Regions from separate parts of the Homo sapiens genome. Here region 2 is linked to region 1. The links are contacts of gene promoters, found by promoter capture Hi-C in blood cells and fetal thymus (Javierre and others, 2016). All regions are on one chromosome and are shown on one strand. Each heading gives the region's core, a stretch centred on a gene start or on the middle of the fragment in contact. The rest is flanking DNA. Distances are from core to core; before and after follow the strand shown. Region 1 holds the start of RIT1 (Ras like without CAAX 1). Region 2 overlaps ASH1L (ASH1 like histone lysine methyltransferase).

Region 1 (3,468 bases), core at 274-2,773:
GCAGGAGAATTGCTTGAACCCGGGAGGCGGAGGTTACAGTGACCGGAGATCGCACCATTGCCCTCCAGCCTGGGAGACAGTGCGAGACTCCATCTCAAAAAAAAAAAAAAAACAACAGACAGACATGGGAGAAGACATTACTACGTAATGAACTTAAGGTATAAGGAAGTAAACCAAGAGCTCCAAGTGCAAGATGTCCAGGCTTGGCATGTCTGGGTTGTAAGAGTTCAGCAGCCTGGCTCTACTTGTTTCTCTGCTTCCTTTTGTGGAAGTTCAAACCAGCTGACTCACAGTTACAGAGCGAGTCTCAAGTCATACCCTTAGAGAAGTGACAGCAAGAAAAGGCTTCGTTAAGTGGCCTGTATACAACCATAAAAAAATACAACAAAGAGAGTTGTCCCATTAATGTTCAGTAAGAGACAAAGACTAAAGATGGCTTATGACATAAAGTCTGAAAAAAAAAGAAATATTCAGTTGCTTACCAACTGCTGATACCCTTGTTTCTAAATAAATCTGAATTAGACTCCAAAAAAGCCTCAAAATATAAATAGTTAGAAACTACTGATATTCATTAAGATATTTTTATGGGGTATATTTGGAAACATAAGTGATGATCTGGCTTACCAATGGTGGGATCATGATCTTCTGGGAATCGGTGGCTGATGAACTGCATGGTCATGGCTTCAAAAGAAGAAATAAAAGTCAAATCCTCACAAAGGTGACCCACAGAGAGAATTTTAAGTATTAACATTGCAAGATAGCAAGTATCCCATCTGGTCATTTAAGTACTTTTCATCCATGCTTCCTGTCAAATGGAAAATGTTACCTACCACTCTTCCCTACACCACCAGCACCCAGCATCACTAGTTTGTACTCCCGTGAGAGCCCAGCGGGGCTGCTACAGCAGCTACCAACTGGGCGAGTTCCAGAATCCATTGTCCTCTTGGGGCCTTCCTCGGTTGCCCCGAGGAAAAGCCACCTAGAAAAGGAGGAGGAAATGCTTAATCCAGGATGGAGACACCACGGCGACAGCCCTCAAGCCAGTGCCTTACCTTTCCATACATATTCTGGCCTGTCCCTCTTACTCTGGCCTGTCCCTCTTGCTCACCACTGCACCCTTTCGGGTGGCCCTAAGAAACCCCCCCATCTTCACCCTCCCTCCTAGACAGTTCAGTCACATGACACATCACAGGTTTTACTTTTTCCAAAGAGAAAAATAAAAAGATACAAATAAATTTACGTCTCGGCACAGTAGGGACAAGGAGAAAGTTTTGGGAAGAAAGGGATGCGGCCCCTTAGGCCGCAGGGGTTCTCTCACGTCTGCGGTACCCAGAGGTTCCGCCCCCTCCCCATTCTCCTCCGAACCCCCTCCCCACCCCCAGCTGCTGCTCCGCCGCCAGACTCCCCACCCCTCTACCTCACAAGCCGACGCCCTGCTGCTCCTACTGGTCAGTGGGGACTGGAACACCACAGCCGGTCGGGTCACGCACTTCGTCTTCCTTCACTCGCGGAGGCTCCGGCACTGACCTGTGACCCCTCCCGCAACCGAGTAAGATGGCGCCACCGGCGCCCGAGTCGCGGAAGGAGGGGCGGGGCCACTCAGTGACGCCCACAGCCTGCCCCGCCCTCTTCCCGCCCCTCCCAGGTCCCTAAAACCCAGTTCCGGGACCCACCGCTGAAGGTCCTCTGGTCACCTACCCAACCTAGGGTGTATGCACTCACAGACAAGGGTATTTAATCACGAGTAGAAAGTAAATTATTTACACAAAAGGGAAGGGAGTACGTGATAAGAGACATGCAGGGACACTTAAATTAACAACTTACCGAGGGTTGTTTGCTGCTTGTGGGAAAAAAAAAAACCCAAAACTAATTTGACCCAATGTAATGAGAGGAAGGGAGGACAGGGGCACCCCCCAAATCCTCCTAAAACACAGGATTTCAGTCAAGTCTACCGGGGATGACTACTCATAGGAGAAAAATGACTTTCCTAAAGGAGCGGCCACAATGACTTTTGCTATTGAAACCTAAATTCATTCTCAGAAACCAGATGTTCACAACACTCCCTAATCAGAGTTCTGTATGTATTTTAAACACGTATAAGACACACAAAAACTTGTTTTAAATAAATGTACCACACTCTGGCAGGAAAGAGAGCTCTGAGTTAACAGAGGCCTTGAGTTAAATACAGAACTGAAGCGCAGCCACTATAACCATATTCCCCTCTATTTACGTAGCACAGGTGCTAGAAGAAACTGACACGAAAATTGTTCTCATGCAGCTCTGCCTACCACTGTTCTTTTTAAATGTCTTTCTGGGCCGGGCGGGCGCGGTGGCTCACACCTGTAATCCCAGCACTCTGGGAGGCCGAGGCAGGTGAGTCATGAGGTCAAGAAATAAGAGACCATCCTGGCCAACATGTAAAACCGTCTCTACTAAAAATACAAAAGAATTAGCTGGGTGTGGTGGCATGCGCCTATAAGTCCCAGCTACTCGGGAGGCTGAGGCAGGAGAATCACTTGAACCTGGGAGGTGGAGGTTGCAGTTAGCTGGCTGAGAGGGTGCCACTGCACTCCAGCCTGGCAACAGAGCAAAACTCCGTCTCAAAATTTAAGTCTTTCTGGCCAGGAGTGCTGGCTCACGCCTGTAATCCCAGGACTTTGGGAGGCTGAAGTGGGCTGATCACTTGAGGATCAGGAGTTCAAGACCAGCCTGGCCAAAATGGTGACTCCCTGTCTCTACTAAAAATATAAAAATTAGTTGGGCATGGTGGTAGGTGCCTATAATCCCAGCTACTCAGGAGGCTGAGGCTGGAGAACCACTTGAACCCAGGAGGTTGCGGTGAGCCAGGATTGCACCATTCCACTCCAGCCTGGGTGACAGAGCGAGACTCCATCTCAAAAAAAAATAAAATGTCTTTCCAAGAATAACATATTTCCTTTAAAACCCGCTTCATTCATGAAGTCCTTTTAATACGCTGTTAAATAAAGGAGGGCTAAAATATGAAAATGGAAAATATCCAGCATAATAATCCTTAACCTTTTCATTTGAACTTTAAGGGTACATTTTGCAGTTACATAACTCTGGGAACTATATGCAAACCTTGGGGTCTGTATATGTATTTTTCTGGTAATGTTATAGTTGCATTGTGCTATGAGTAAAAAAGTTTATGAATTTCAGTGTATGGATGGGTTGTGGAAGAAAACAGAGAAACCACAAGCAGAATATTTATAGATTTATTTATAATGAAATTATGGTCTAAATATTTACAACATATAGGAAACCAGAGGATAAGTTTATACAAAGCCAGCCTGCAAAGTATTCAAATGTGCAAAAATGACAGTTCAATATCTCAAACTATTCCTGGTTCAGCAGACTAGCTCCTTCACTTTCACACATCAATATTTGATACAAAAAGTTATTTTGGCAAAATCTGTAATGCCAAGAAAAAGGACAATTTGCAATTTCAGT
Region 2 (3,468 bases), core at 702-3,201, 580 kb before region 1:
CAACCTCTGCCTCTCGGGTTGAAGCGATTCTCCTGCCTCAGCCTCCGGAGTAGCTGGGATTACAGGCATCCACCATCACGCCCGGCTAATTTTTTGTATTTTTAGTAGAGACAGGGTTTCACCATGTTGGCCAAGCTGGTCTCGAACTCCTGACTTTAGGTGATCCGCCCGCATGGCATGTTTAAGAAATAGCTGGGGCTGGGTGCGGTGGCTCAGGCCTGTAATCGAAGCACTCTGGGAGGTGGAGGTGGGCGGATCATTTGTGGTCAGGAGTTTGAGACCAGCCTGGCCAACATGGTGAAACCCCTGTATCTACTAAAATACAAAAAAAATTAGCCAGGCATGGTGGCAGGCGCCTATAATCCCAGCTACTTGGGAGGCTGAGGCAGGAGAATCCCTTGAACCCGGGAGGCGGAGGTTGCAGTGAGACGAGGTTGCACCACTGCACGCCTGCCTGGGTGAGAGCGAGACTCCATCTCAAAAAAAAAAAAGAAAAAAAAAAAAAAGAAAAGAAAAGAAACAGCTGGGCCAGGCGTGGTGGCTCATGCCTGTAGTCCCAGAACTTTGGGAGGCTGAGTTGAGTGGATCACTTGAGCCCAGGAGTTTGAGACTAGCCTGGGCAACACAGGGAGATCCCTGTCTCTACAAAAAATAAAAACATTAGCCAGGCGTGGTGGTGCGCCCCTGTAGTCCTAGCAACTCAGGAGGCTGAGTTGGGAGGATTGCTTGAGCCCAGGAGGTTGAGGTTGCAGTGAGCTATAATGTGCCACTGCACTCTGGCCTGGGCAACACAGTGATGCCTTGTCTCAAAAACAAAAAAATTAAAAAAAACCCAACAAAACAGCTGGACTACGTTAGGCAACACGGTGAAACTCCGTCTGCACAAAAAGTGCAAGAATTGGCCAGGCATGGTGGTGCATGCCTGTAGTTCCAGCTATTTGGGAGGCTGAGGCAGAAGGATCATTTGAGTCTGGGATGTGGAGGTTGCAGTGAGCCGAGATTGTGCCATTGCACTCCAGTTTGGGTAACAGGGAGACTCTGTCTCAAACACAAAAAACAAAAAAGCAACTGGACATTTGGTGTGTGTTATTACTGTGCTGATTGATTAGGCTGAGTCCAGACTAGAAAGATCCTAGTACTGAAGAAATGACTTTATCCAGTAGTCAACGGCAGTGAGTGTGCTCATGTGCAGCCTAGCATGTTTATGATGTTGTTTCAGAAAGATCCCCTTGGAAACAGGATGAGGTTGTCTTGGAAGATAAATGGGGGATAAGAAGGAGGAAAAAATAGCAAGCTCATCAGTCCACAGTTAGGAAAAGTTTTTTCCATTTAATACTAGACTTTCAAGGATTGAGATGCAAGCTTTGTATGCAATTACATCCAATGTTAAAATTGGTAATACATAATTTACAAAGATTAACATCAAAACAATCATCTATTTAGATATGCTTTTGTAAAAAGGAAATATATTAGCAGCATTTATATTTTCCGCAATCACACAGCCTACAGACATGCAGACTAACTCTGTATCTATTTGCAGTGATGTAGTGCTTTGCCCCGCATTTCAAACACCAAAACCCGCCTGGCAGCTGGGGGGTTCTTTTTATTTCGTTATTATAAAATAACTGAAAAATAAAAAAAGGCATTAATTTCTACACCAGTAAGAAAAAACAAGTTTTTGCACTTACCTAACATTTGATTGTCTAAAAAACATTTCAGTTTTTTTTTAGTCTTTCAACAAAAGAAAGATAAAATGACAGAGCGTAGTGTCTTTTGCTTCTGTTCTCGCATTTTACAAAGTTTTTTTTTCTTTTTCATCTTTTTTAAAATTTTAGTGTTTAACACTATAAAGGAAACATTGAATTTTAATCTCTTTCTTGTCATTTTCTCGCTTTTGACTAAAAGGAGACCCCCAAAGTGCCCCTAGTCCCACCTCCCTCCCACCCACTCCCTGCAATGAAAAACAAAAGAAACCACTCAAACGGGCTTGGACATGCGATTTTTCCAGCTCCACATGTGAGTATCTTATACCCAGGTCTCTTAGTAATGTACAGTGCTTCTCTACAGTAAGAAAATACTCCAAACTATTTTCTTAATTCTCTTTTTTCTTTAATAAAATATTTATTTTGCTTTTTCTCTGCTCAAGGGGATCATTGGCATCCCCTCTCTCTTTTGTTTTTTCCTCAAGAATGACACAGAAAGGGGAAAAAGGAAAAAATATTTAATGGAATGGAAGGTGGTCAATGTGTCTACCTAAACGAGTCAGAGCATCGTCACCATAAGGGGAAATGTACAATTAGGACAGCATTGGTCCAATATTAGAAAAAAGTAATGGGGACATGTTTACTATTGTATTGCTTACCAATCACACAGCAGGTGTGTGTGTGTGTGTGTATATATATACACACACACATATATATATACACACACATACACACATATATATACACACACACACACAACTTGGCACATTTAAAAACCATCTTTTCTCTTATAAGAACATCTAAAACATATATGCATATGTATGTCTGAAAAGACAACAAAGCTTTTTAAATTTTATTTTTAAAGAGACAGTATAGTCTGTTAACTTCTGGTCAAGAGAGTAGGAAGGAAGGAGACACCCTGGATATACCTCCTGATGTCATTCAGGAGGGTGAGGGAAGATGGGCTAGGGGTGAAGAGAAATATACTGTCTCTTTAAGAAAGGGACATTGAAAACTGTACAATTAAGAAAACAAGAGTAGTGTTTTCAATTGATAATCTATACTCACAACAAATACTCTGATAGGTGAATACTGCTGAACAGTTTATGTAGTGACTTTTGTTGCAGGGGTGGGTTTAGAGTTCTTTTTATGTAGGTTTTTAAATGATTTTATTTTGAACTGAATCTCCATTTGCACAGCACAGCAGACACACAAGAACTACAGCGCATTAAAAACAGCATGTGTGCTGGCGGGGGCCTGGCTTTCTCATTAGAAAAAAATATGTTTGACAGGTTATGAAGGGTAAAACAAAAATAATTGCAAGAACTACCGTGCCCTTCTGACCCCATGGGGGCCTTCCCTATCCCATGATTCCATTTTGGGGAGTAGAGGTAGGGAGGGGGCAGCAGTTACAAGTGCTTTGAGCTGTCAACTCACATTTTACTTTGACCTGGTTGGGCAAGAAAGGAGAGACAAACTTCCCTAGTCAGGTATCTAGGAAGAAGCCTCAGCTACTGTTTCTGTTTAAGGTCTCTGGGGTAGCTCTTGGAGCCAACAGAGAATAGATGGGGTAGGAATAGGGATCCTGGCCCTATCCCTTTGGATTTTGAGTTATACCTGGGTATAGGAAGCAGCTTCTTCGCAATGCCTGTGGGATCTGAGGATGACAGAAAAACCTAAGCTGTGGGGTGGGGCAAATGCTATAAAGTACCAGTAGGTTCTGGTCATCAATGTGGTCCTCCCTCCTCTCTACATTATTAACCCT

Evidence for each region. Contacts are between HindIII fragments. The CHiCAGO score rates a contact against its expected background, and 5 or more counts as called.
Region 2: a fragment that was not itself captured here is called in contact with the fragment with the promoter of RIT1 in region 1 in 2 of 17 cell types (megakaryocytes and M2 macrophages); the score reaches 6.4 in megakaryocytes.

Annotation. Positions count from the first base shown.
Region 1 is chr1:155,909,826-155,913,293 of GRCh38, forward strand. It overlaps RIT1 (Ras like without CAAX 1), which reads right to left and starts at 1,524. Exons shown (of 6, transcript NM_006912.6): 1 at 1,418-1,524; 2 at 831-979; 3 at 625-681. The coding sequence starts at 936. KHDC4 (KH domain containing 4, pre-mRNA splicing factor) reads right to left here. Exons shown (of 14, transcript NM_014949.4): 14 at 3,220-3,468. The HindIII fragment of the contact is 5,298 bases long and covers 1-3,468 here.
Region 2 is chr1:155,333,959-155,337,426 of GRCh38, forward strand. ASH1L (ASH1 like histone lysine methyltransferase) reads right to left here. Exons shown (of 28, transcript NM_018489.3): 28 at 1,310-3,468. Among named protein-coding and RNA genes, the nearest start is that of MIR555, 11 kb to the right of the region's middle. The HindIII fragment of the contact is 1,183 bases long and covers 1,361-2,543 here.